Linked DNA regions of Homo sapiens: region 2 is linked to region 1. The links are contacts of gene promoters, found by promoter capture Hi-C in human tissues and cell types (Jung and others, 2019). All regions are on one chromosome and are shown on one strand. Each heading gives the region's core, a stretch centred on a gene start or on the middle of the fragment in contact. The rest is flanking DNA. Distances are from core to core; before and after follow the strand shown.

Region 1 (6,283 bases), core at 1,059-3,558:
CTGCTACCAGTTTCATCCCTTCAAGCACTGTATGCCAAAATCTTTGACTCTAGAGAGTCCTAAATGTGACAGAGATTGTCGGGGAATGGGGGGTGGGCAGGAACTGCATTAATTCTTCACATACTTCCTCCACTCCTACATCAAAGCTACTAATGCTGCTCTGAAAAAAAAAAAATCCCAAAACCAATGTGTTTGTGAAAGGCTTAAAAAGAGAATATAGAAATCAAAACTGAAATGGCTTGTCCTGGATCCCCAGCCTAAGGAATAGAGATATAAAATCCAGTAGATATTTCAAAACTTCCTATGCCATATTGCTCTTTTCTTTATTCTCCTGGATATTGCATTTGCACCTCCTCAATCTTCTGAGTTTTCCTCATTTATGTATAGTGCCAGCAGCTGAAAATCCATTCTCATTGTCTCTCAATCACAGTAGAATTAGTTAACCAAGTACCTTTCCTTTCTAATATAAAGTATTTAAGGTTTTTTTCCTTTTCTTGTCCTAGACTGGCTATGTGGATGCTGGAAGATGGGGAAAACTTGTTTCAAGCTGAACATTATCCTTGCCATTAACTTGCTTAAAGAGGCTGGATTCATCTGGGCAGTTTTCACTGCTGCAAGTTAGGCACCTTATTCCACAAGGTGCAAGTAGCATGGAAGAGAAAAGCAAAGTTCATAGGCAAAACTTCCAAGAACAAAGATCTCTGAATTGGGATGAAATTCTAACTGCCAGATTTGCTCTCTATATCTCTCTTGATATGTTTTCTACTTACTATGGAGTGACAGTTGTTGTGGATGGGAGGATTGAAAATGGGAAGAACTAATCAAAGATATAATGTTGTGGAAAGGACTGATAAGCTACACCAACCTGTGTCATATTATTCTTTTTCTTGGAGCTCAGCATGAGAGCAGGCAATAACAGGAGAATAACTTTAAAAAAATCTTTAAAACCAGACTCATTGTCTTCATTCCTAGGACTTACAGAGACCAAAGCTCCTGAAGTACCATCATTCTACCATGGATACTGTGAAGTGGTACCACCGTAAATCCATGTCCTCTAATGTCAGCGGACTATCAGGTGAGCCAACAGCCCTCTTCTGCATGTTTGATAAACTCTTCCTTTCCCCACAGCTATTTCAAATTCATCAAGACCGCTCTCTACCCATCTTCCCTCTTATTCCAATGCCCTAATGCACTGTTTTCCTATCTGTCTGTCACTAATATCTGTCCCATTAGAGTCATGGAAGTAATTCAGCTGGCTATAGCCTGCAGTCTTTTTCCTTGAGGAAATAGAACAGAAATATCAGAAGGCATCCCTAGAAGATCCTTAGCAACCTTGCACACACAGTGCCAAATATGTGGGGTGTAAGTGTGTGTAAAGCCACAATGTCATAATATAAAGTGGATTTCTTTCTCTGGAATATGATACACACACACACACACACACACGCCAAATTCAAAGATAAAATGGTTTCTGGGCCTTTCACCATCTGAATCTGCCTATATCCACCTCTTCTCTACCTTACTACCTCTCTAGTCTCATTAGCCCCTCATGGTTCCAGATCATCTCTCCCACCTACTTGAGGACTGTTTCTATTAATTTTCCCTATTCTCAACTGCATCTTCATCTTCTACTACTTTATCTATTCCTTACTGGCAATTGAGGTGACTACCTCATCCTGATTTTCCCAGGACTGTCCTGGTTTTAAAACTGAAAGTGCTGCACCCAGCAATCCCCTCAGTCTCAACCAAACTGGAATGGTTGGTCACCCTACCTACATCCATGCTCAAGTCACTCATATCTTTAAAAATGAAAACACGCCGGGCGCGGTGGCTCACGCCTGTAATACCAGCACTTTGGGAGGCCGAGGAGGGCGGATCACGAGGTCAGGAGATCGAGACCATCCTGGCTAACATGGTGAAACCCCGTTTCTACTAAAAATACAAAAAAATCAGCCAGGCGTGGTGGCGGGCACCTGCAGTCCCAGCTACTCAGGAGGCTGAGGGAGGAGAATGGTGTGAACCCAGGAGGCAGAGCTTGCAGTCAGCTGAGATCGCGCCACTGCACTCCAGCCTGGGCGACAGAGTGAGACTCCATCTCAAAACAAACAAACAAACAAAAAAAATGAAAACAAAACAAAAATTAAGAGACTTCACATTATCCAGTGGACTACTCTGGATACCAAATTATGCATAGAACCAAACTTTATGAATGACTTACCATCAGAAGAAACAGTAGTTTCCATGGCCATTTCTGTCTAGATGGTTTATACCATGCTTTATCAATGGTTTGTAGCTGAGGCCACAGAACAAAGGGAAACATAAGCCCTCTCCCTTTTGTCTCTCAGGTGACTAAATTCTAGATTTAGCTACTTAGCAACAAGGAACTTTCAATTCTACAGAAATAATAATAGGCTCTGAAGAATATCTTGCTCTCATCCTGCCATTTCTATACTCACTTCCGAATTTAATACAATTGGAATTGGGTTGTCTCCTCACCTCCAGTCTATGTCCCCTGACAGCACAGGTTTGTAATTTTGCTGGTGTCATTGCATTGGTCTAGACTGTCTAATCACTTTTCCCATTGAACTGAATTATAGTAACTTTATAGGGCAAGATCAAATTCCACTTCCATTATCAAATCTTTCCTAAATAATCCAGAAAACATTAACATCCTGTAACTCTCTTTATAACTTTAATATGCAATACATTTTTGTGTGACAAAATTTATATCCTTGCTATTTTCTGTTTCATACGTGAGTTTTAAAAATTGCATCTCCTATTAGACTATAATGTTTTGGAGAAAAGTATGCTCAAAATGATTGGTGGAGAATTTATGGTATAGTGTTTGGTAAAATATATAATCAATAAGATGAGTTCAATTTATAAAAACTACATAGGATAAAGACTAATTTAATAAAATATTAACTCTAACTTTGGGAATTTCTGTTATAGATTTTTGTCAACTCCTAATTTACCTGGTAGAATCAGAGCCTCATGGGATAACCATCAATTAGAAGCAGTTTTAATTACAGACCCCTTCCATTTCCTGCCAGGAAAAGATTCTACTATTTATGCTGGTTTCTTTAGAAATCTGACAAGGTTCCTTTTGATAAACTGTTTTGCTCATACATGCAAAACTGGAGACACCTCTGCCTTAGGAGGGGTAGATACAAAGAGGTTTGTCTTCCGCTGGACTCAGTGGATAACATCTACTTCTATACCAGACATCATTTACAATGAGGTATACATAGCCCCAAAAAATTAGAGTAGAGGAAACCACATACATTCAATCATGGAAAAAGCTTAGTAGCAAGCCAGTAGCACTAGTAAGCAGAGCGAAGAAACTCTACGCAGGGAGAAAGATAATTGAGGAAGAATAGAATGCCTGCTTCAGGCAGAACAAATAGTAACCTGCAAGATCCATAGGTGGGAAAAGAATGAAACCTTCCCAAAGGAGCTTGGCTTGATCTCTCTAGCTGTAAGAAGGAGTAAATTTATTTCTTCTTCTTCTTTTTCTTTTTCTTTTTTTTTTTTGACAGGGTCTCACTCTGTCACCCGGGCTGGAGTGCAGCTGTTTTTTGTTTGTTTGTTTGTTTGTATCTTTTATAGAGATAGGGTTTGTCCATGTTGGTCAGGCTGGTCTCAAACTCCTGGGCTCAAGTGATCTGGCCTCCCAAATTGCTAGGATTACAGGCACCCGGACAACATTTATTTCTTTGTGGAATCAGCACTAAGAACTTCTGGTTCCAGAAAAGATAGAGTAGACACATTTCTTCCTATTATTCCTAGTAAGTATAGTAAGTCCTCAATGTCATGAATAGGTTCTTGGAAACTGCAACTTTAGGTGAAACAATGTACAGTAGGTCCTGAAATAACATTGTTTTGTCCAATGTGTTTCATTATAACACTGATGAGACAAATAAAAATTTGTTTTGTTGTATGTTACTTTGCACTGTTAAAGTCACAGTTTCTGAGAACCTATTGCTGATGTGAGGACTTACTGTGCAAGTAAAAACACTGTATTTTAAATAGAAAACAAACATAAGAAGGTTAAGAAAGGTAGAGAAAATCATGCAGAGAAGGTACCTACCCTGGGATCTAAGGAATAACATGGTGGTGAATCCCTGAGTTTTCTTTTAACCTCAAGCAATCTGGAGAAGCCTATAACATTTTAATGCCAACAGACATAGAACAAAAAGACTCAAGAAGTTTGCTGTCTGTAGCCAAAGGACTCAGAAATGAGCAGTCTGGCGAGACAGAAAACTTTTAGAAAATAACCATCCTTCTCCACCCAAATGTCATGGGAAAACTTGTATCCCCACATGCACTTCATCAGCAAAAGCCACATGGGGAGCTTAAACTTTCAAATCTTCCCAGCTGTAACGTGGCATCCCCTCCCCCACCCCACTCACTGGGGTGGTGTCAGAGAAGGTCAAGTTGAGTTCTGAGACTTTCCTCCTTGTCATGCAGTAAATGAGGCCCTGATATAGTTTGAATGTTTGTTCCCTCAAAATCTAATGTTAAAACATGATCCCCAATGTTACAAGTGAGGTGTGATAGAAGGTGTTTGGCTGGATCCCTCATATATGGCTTGGTGCTGTCCTTGCAGGAATGAGTGAGTTCTTACTCTATGAGTTCACATGAGAGCTGGTTGCCTAGCCAAGCTCTAGGAACAGGGCCACCACCCTTCAGACCCCTGAATGATAGAGCCACCAGCAGCTTGTACCCTTAGCCTAAAAACACTGCAGGCACTCAATACCAATCTGTGAGGGCAGCCACAGGCGCTGCACCCTGCAAAGCCGCAGGGGCAGAGCTGCCCAAGGCCTTGGGGAGCCCACCCCTTGCACTAGTGTGGGCTGAATACAGGACATGGAGTCAAGGATTATTTTAAAGCTTTAAGGTTTAATGTCTGCCCTGCTGGGCTTCAGACTTGCATGGGGCCTGTTGCCCCATTTTCTTTTGGCCAATTTATCCCTTTTGGAATGAAAATGTTTGACAAATGCCTGTGCCACCATTTAATCCTACAGGCACATAGGTGGAAGAAACCTGCCTTGAGTATCAGATGAGACTTTGGACTTTGGACTTTTAATTGAATTGATGCTAAAATGAATTCAGACTTTAGGGGACTACTGAAAAGGGATAATTGTGTTTTGCAATGTGAAAAAAAAAACATGAAATTTGGGGTCCTGGGAAAAAATGATATAGTTTGGATGTTTTTACCCTCCAAGTCTGATGTTAAAATATAATCCCCAGTGTTAGAGGTGGGGCCTAGTGGGACACGTTTGGAGCATGGGGGTGAGTCCTTCATGAATACATTGGTGGTGTCCTCATGGTAATGAATGAGTTATTCCTCTATGAGTTCATGTGAGATCTGGTTGTTTAAAAGAGCCTGGCACCTCCTCCCTCTCTCACTTTTTTCCTCTCTCACCATGTGACACACTGGCTCCCCTTTGCCCTTTGCCTTCAGTCATGATTGTAAGCCTCCTGAGAACCTCGCCAGGAGCAGATACAAGCACTAGGCTTCTTGTACAGCCTGCAGAACCATGAGCCAAATAAACCACTTTTCTTTATAAATTACCCAGTCTCAGGTTGCTTCATAGCAACACAAAACAAACACTGGCTCCTATTTCACAATGTCAGTGGAGGTCACTTGGACAGCTGTAATGAGGCATCTTTCAACTTCCCAGCTAAGATGGCGTCAACAGAGGCCTAGAGAGGAGGATGAACTTTTCCATTTGAACAGCAGATGTGAGCTGCCCTTTACCCCTGGCATATCAACAGAAATTAAGTGGAGAACCTGGAAAGATGCCAGCGTTTAGCAACAGCAAAGTAATGCCATTCTTACCCTACTGGTGCAACATCATAAGGATCCTGATAAAAGAAAAAATTTAATAAGATCTAGGGCCTCACAACATAACACCCAAAGTGTTCAGAATACAGTGGAGGCCAGGCGCAGTGGCTCACGCCTGTAATCCCAGCACGTTGGAAGTCCAAGGTGGGCGGATCATGAGGTCAGGAGTTTGAGACCAGCCTGGCCAATATGGTGAAACCATGTCTCTACTAAAAAAAACAAAAAATACAAAATTAGCCAAGCATGGTGGTGTGCGCCTGTAATCTTAGCTAATAGGGAGGCTGAGGCAGGAGAATCACTTGAATCCTGGAGGTGGAGGTTGCAGTGAGCCGAGATCATGCCACTGCACTCCAGCCTGGGCGACAGAGCAAGACTCCATCTCAAAACAATACAAAAAACAGAATACAATGAAAAATCACTAGTTATTTATAA
Region 2 (6,039 bases), core at 2,698-5,197, 76 kb before region 1:
TTATGTTTTTATTTCATTTTGAGCGATTTTTGTGTTGTATAAGTGTTCAATTTCATGCTTTTGCATGTGGATATCCAGTTTTTCCAATACTGCTTATGGAAGAGACTATTTTTCCCCCATTGTGTAGTTTTGGCACCTTTATCAGAGGTCATTTATTCATACATGTCTGGGTTTACTTCTGGGCTCTGTATTCTGTCTGTTTTTATGCCAGTACCATGCTGTTTTTACTACTGTATATTTATAATATATTTTGAAGTCAGATAGTATGAGGCTTCCAGCTTTATTCTTCTTTCTCAAGATTGTTTTGGCTGTTTGGGGCCATTTGTGCTTCTTTATAAATTTTGAATTGTTTTTCTAATTCTGCTAATAATGCCACTGAGATTTTGTTAGGGATTCTATTGAATCTGTAGATTGCTTTGGATAGTGTGGACATTTTAACAATATTAAGTCTTCTAGTCTATGAATGAGATGTCTTTCCATTTATTTATGTCTTCTTTAATTTTTTTCAGCAAGGTTTTGTGATTTCAAGTGTACATGTCTTTAATTTTTTAAATTTAAGATTATTCCTAAGTATTTTATTCTTTCTGATGCTATTGTAAATAGAATTGTTTTCTTATTTTTCAGGTGATTTATTGTTAGTATATAATTATGCACGTGACTTTTGTAGTTGATTTTGTATCCTGCAACTTTGTTGAATTCATTTATTAGCTATAACAGGTTTGTTTTTGTAGAATCTTTAGAGTTTTCTACAGATCAAGTCATCCGTGAACATAGATCATTTTACTTCTTCCTTTCTGATATGGACATTTTAATTTCTTTTTCTTGTCTAATTTCTCTGGCTAGGACTTCCCATACTGTTTTATAGAAGTGGATAAAATGGATATTCTTGCCTTGTTCCAGATCTTAGAGGAAAAGCTTTCAGTTTTTCATCATTGAGTACAATGTTAGCTGTGTACTTTTCCATACATGCCTGTATAATGTTGAGACCATTTTCTTGTATTCCTAGAATGTCAAGTATTTTTTATCAAAAAAGTGTGTTGGATTTTGTCAAATGCTTTTTCTGCATCTATTGAGATGATCATGTAATTTTTATCCTTCTGCCTGTGAATGTGATATATCACAATGATTGGTTTTTGAATGTTAAACTATCCTTGTATCATAGTAATTTCTTTTAGACCTTTTTATTTCTAAGTCATTAGTTATAATGTCTCCTTTTTCATTTCTGATTTTTGTTTTGTTTTTCTCTTAGCTGCTCTAGTTAAAGGTTTGCCAATTTTGTTGATCTTTTCAAATACCAATTTGTATTGATTTTTAAATGGTCTATTCTCTATTTTGTTTATTACTGCTCCAATGTTTATGTCTTTTTTCTGTTGACTTTCAGCGTAGTTTTTTCTTCTTTCCTTCTAGTTCCTGAAGGTGTAAAGTCAGGTTGTTTATTTGAGATTTCTCTCTCTCTTTTTTTTTTTTAAATGTCAGTATTTATCTCTGTAAACTTCTCTTTTAGGACTGCTTTGCTGCATCCTATAAGTTTTGGTATGCTGTGTTTTCATTTTTATGTCAAGATATTTGCTAATTTCCCTCTTAGTTTCTTCTTTGACCCAATGGTTGGTGTTGTTTAATTTCCATCTGCAGATGAACCACATAAGAATGTTTTGGGCAATGATGGATCGCATATATGACAGTGGTCTCATATTACAATGGAGCTGAAAAATTCCTATTGTCTAGTGACTTTGTAGCCATCTAATGTCACATCGTAATGCATTACTCATGTGTTTGTGGTGATGCTGGTGTAAACAAACCTATGCATTACCAATCATATAAAAGTATAGTACATGCAATTATGTGTAGTACATAAAGTTGATAATGATGATAAAAGATTTCCTATACTATACTTTTTATCATTATATTAGAGTATACTTCTACATATATTTTTTAAAAGTTAGCTAACTGTAAAACAGCCTCAGGCAGTTCATTCAGGAGGTGTTCCAGAAGAAGGCATTGTGATCATAGGAGATGACAGCTCCATGTATGCTATTGCCCCTTCCAATGGGACAAGATATGGAGGCAGAAGACAGTGATTATTGATGATCTTCACCCTGTGACGACCTAGGCTAATGTTTGTGTTTGTGTCTTAGTTTTTAACAAAAAATTTTAAAAGTAAGAAAAAATAATTTTAAAAATAGAAAAAGCTTATAGAATAGGGATATAAAAATTTTTGTATTTTTAGTAGAGATAGGATTTCACCATCTTGTCCAGGCTGGTTTCAAACTCCTGACCTCGTGATCCACCCGCCTTGGCCTCCCAAAGTGCTGGGATTACAGGCGTGAGCCACCATGCCTGGCCTACGATGTAAAAATTTTTGTACAGCTGTACAATGTTTTATGTTTCAAGCTAAGTGTTATTACAAAACAGTCAAGAAGTTGAAAAATTAAAAGTATATAAAGTAAAAAAGTTATAGTAAGCTAAGTTTAATTTATTATTAAAGAAATTTTTAAAAATAAATGTATTGTAGCCTAAGTGCACAGTGTTTATAAAGTTTACAGTAGTGTACAGTAATGTCCCAGGCCTTCACATTCACTCACCATTTACTTACTGACTTACCCAGAGAAACTCCTAGTTCTGCAAGCTCCATACATGATGAGTGCCCTAAACAAGTGAACCATTTTATATCTTTTATGCCATATGTTTACTGTTTCTATGTTTAAATATGTTTATATACACAAATACTTACCATTGTATTCCAGTTGCCTATAGTATTCAGTATAGTAGCATGCTGTACAGGTTTGTAGCATAGGAACAATAGGCTATCCAATATAGCCCAGGTGTATAGTAGGCTATACCATTCTAGGTTTGTAGAAGTACACTCTATGATGTTTGCACAATGACGAAATCACCTAACAACACATTTCTCAGAATTTGTCTCCATTGTTAAGTGATAAATGAGTGTATTTGTGAATTTTTCAGATTTCATTACATTATTGATAGCTAGTCTCATTCTATTGTGGTCAGAAAGATGCTTGGGGTGATTTCAATCTTAAATTTGTTAAGACTTGTTTTATGACCTAATATGTGAACTATCCTGGAGAATATTTTGTGTGCCCTTGAGAAGAATGTGTGTTCTGATGTGTTGGGTAGAATGTTCTGTGTGTGTTTGTTAGGTCCATATGGTCTATAGTATGGTTCAAGTCAGTTTCTTAAATTGATTTTCTGTCTGGATGTTCTATCCATTATTGAAAATAGGGTATCAAAATATCTTACTATTATTGTGTTGCTATCTATTTCTCCCTTAAATTATGTCAATGTTTGCTTCATACATTTGGGTTCTCCAATGTTGGGTGCATATATTTCTAATTGTTATATCTTCCTGATAAATTGAGCCCTTTTATCATTATATAGTCTCATCTTTTGTCTCTTGTAACAGTTTGTTTTGCTTTTAGATGCATATGAAATTATTTTTACTACAAACAAGATGTAGTCAAACCTGCTTTAGGAAGCTTCAGTCATTGTCTAACACAGATGTTCCAGGTGATTGCCCATTCTGTCAGACTCAAGGAGGTTCTCTCTTTTCATGTGGCCATCTATCAGCCTGTTTATAGTTTTCTCTTCTTGATAGCATCATCTACTGTGTCCTTGTCAAAACCTTTCCAGGTTTGGGTTTGTGTATTTTCCCAAGCCTCTCATTTCTTGGACAATTTCTTTCATCATTGTCAGTCAAATCTGGCATGGTCAGATTATCTCCACTAAGCTCTGGAATGAGGAAACCTTTTTGTTTAACACATCCTAAGAAGGATTCTCCAATTCTACCTGGACATATGGAACAGTTCAACCCCCTATACATTAGGGGAAACCTATGTATCCAGTGATTAATATAATCATGAAAAGAAATAAAGTATCCAGTTATTAATACAATCATGAAAAGAAAATGAAAAGGACTTTCTTAGAAGATGGACCTAAGTGATCCTTATCTATTCACTTTCTGATCCATTTCCTCACAACCATATCTAAAAAAGAAGATAGTAGATGGCAAAGATATAAAATTGTCTCCCAATTGTTGTTCCAAACTCCCCCGCCCACTGCGAGTGCATCATCATTCAGTTGCTTTTAATATTGTATTGAACTTCACATTCACCTTTGTTTTATGCAGGTTTAACATAATTATATTAAGGATACTAAGCTTTCTTTAGCCAAAAGTATGAACATTTTATATCAATAACAATATTTCTGCTATATTTTTCTACCAAATTATAGTTTAACTGGTGATGTGGTAGAACCACACATAAAAAAGCAGACCATATACATAAATATTTCAAACACAGGATATGATGCTTATTCAGAAGTTTACAGAATATTAATGATGCAAAGCAGAAGTTGAATTTAATCTAAACATTGAAGGATACTATAATGTGGTTCAAGAATGAGGAAAGGTTTAGATGATTTAGATAAGGGTAGGGCATGAACAAAGTTCCTAAAGCAGAAGTGAGCATATGCTGTGTGTGGAGCTCATAAGATGGGGTTGAAGAGGCTGACCTGACACTTGCATGTAGGGGAGGGATAGAAAAAGAAAACTGGATAGAGGTGGTGGAGGCAGAGTCAATTGACTTTAAGAGCCACATGGTGTGATCTGTAACTGAGAGGACCTTGTTGCTGAGCAGCGAGATTAAGAACTTAATCCTCTGTGAGATCTACAGAGATTTGTTTACTTTTGACATGTGAGATGTCAGTTCTTATATTTGTTTTTTGAGGGGGCAATACAGACCACTGATGAGCGTGGCCATTAAAAGAACTATGGGCATAATTGTTCAGTTTGCTGGTAAGTGATTCTTGTCCATTAAAGAGAGAAAGTTCTAGTGGCAAGGTGGTAGCCATGGGAGTATGTGAGAATAAAGGAAGATAAATATTTTAAGGTTAGTAGAGATTTGAGTATGTTCATGTACTGGAAATAAAGAGAAAGTAATGAAGGAAAAGTTGAGGATAAATCTGACAGTTGAGTCAATCTTCAAGTAGGTAAGGCTATAGGATTCATAGCACAGATAGAGGGGCTATGAGCTGGAACTGGAGGAAGATACATCTTTCACTGAAATTGAATCCAAGATCCCAGGGAGAGATAAGAATGACTGTAGTTTCAGATAGGATTTTATTTTCAGCAAAGAAAGAGGGACAGAGTTTTCCCCAAAATCTTTCATTTTCATTATTTGGCTACTGCTCTTCCAGTGGATTTTGACTGTGACCCACAATAAGAAATTTAGCTTAGTTTACATTGAGACTCAGTGAGCATGGGAGTGTGCAGATACAAACACAGACACAGAAAATTAAATATAAACTCTGGTTACAGTGTTTGAAGGTCTTGCTAAGGATCTGTGTAAAACCCTCTGATATTTTCAACACAATTGTGTTTCCTTTGGTTGTGGCCCACTACATTGATTTACAGTTTGTGACCTGAGTTTGAGAAACACAAAATTAGGCTGTGACTGTGAGTGAGGGGAGAGATCATAAGATAGGGTGTTGATGAGTTTTAAATTGTTACTGGAATTAGAAGAAAGAGTTAATTACTGATGCAGAGGAAGATTCTCACAGTGGTTGAAATCCCAGTAATATTAGAGGAAAGGCCTTCAGAATACACCCGTTCACAAAATTAATGGGAAGGCAATGTTCCTTTAAGACTTGTCTTTGGAGTAATGCATTGATGACAAGGACTGGCCTATCACAGATTCTTTGGAATAAACTTTTGTATTATAACCTCATCATATTTCTGACTATATGTAATATAGGTTTTATCTTCTCTACAAGGCTTTTTCTGTCATGATCCTCTCTCAATTCACCCATTTCCATCTTAATGTTCCAAACTCTATGACACATACCAAGGATATTATGAGGAGAGCTATGGAGAGGAAATCTAAATTGGGATTTCACCTCTATCAGATATACTTTACCTAAGAGGTCTCATCTAGTGATCCTGATTTCCTCTTGTGGCATCCGGTGGCCATCCATTAGTTCTGGACACCCACATGGAGGGATAGAGGTTTTCTTGACATCATAATG

Evidence for each region. The method cuts DNA at HindIII sites, captures the fragments that hold promoters and counts their contacts. A contact is called where the count stands out against the background at its distance.
Region 2: a contact is called between a fragment that was not itself captured here and the fragment with the promoter of ADAM21 in region 1, in 2 of the 25 tissues and cell types used here (H1 embryonic stem cells and hippocampus).

Annotation. Positions count from the first base shown.
Region 1 is chr14:70,448,199-70,454,481 of GRCh38, reverse strand. It overlaps ADAM21 (ADAM metallopeptidase domain 21), which reads right to left and starts at 2,308. Exons shown (of 2, transcript NM_003813.4): 1 at 2,219-2,308. The HindIII fragment of the contact is 8,309 bases long and covers 1-4,098 here.
Region 2 is chr14:70,526,305-70,532,343 of GRCh38, reverse strand. All of the region lies in intron 1 of ADAM20 (ADAM metallopeptidase domain 20), which reads left to right. It overlaps LOC105370556 (a long non-coding RNA gene), which reads right to left and starts at 5,998. Exons shown (of 3, transcript XR_007064239.1): 1 at 5,931-5,998. The HindIII fragment of the contact is 4,789 bases long and covers 1,553-6,039 here.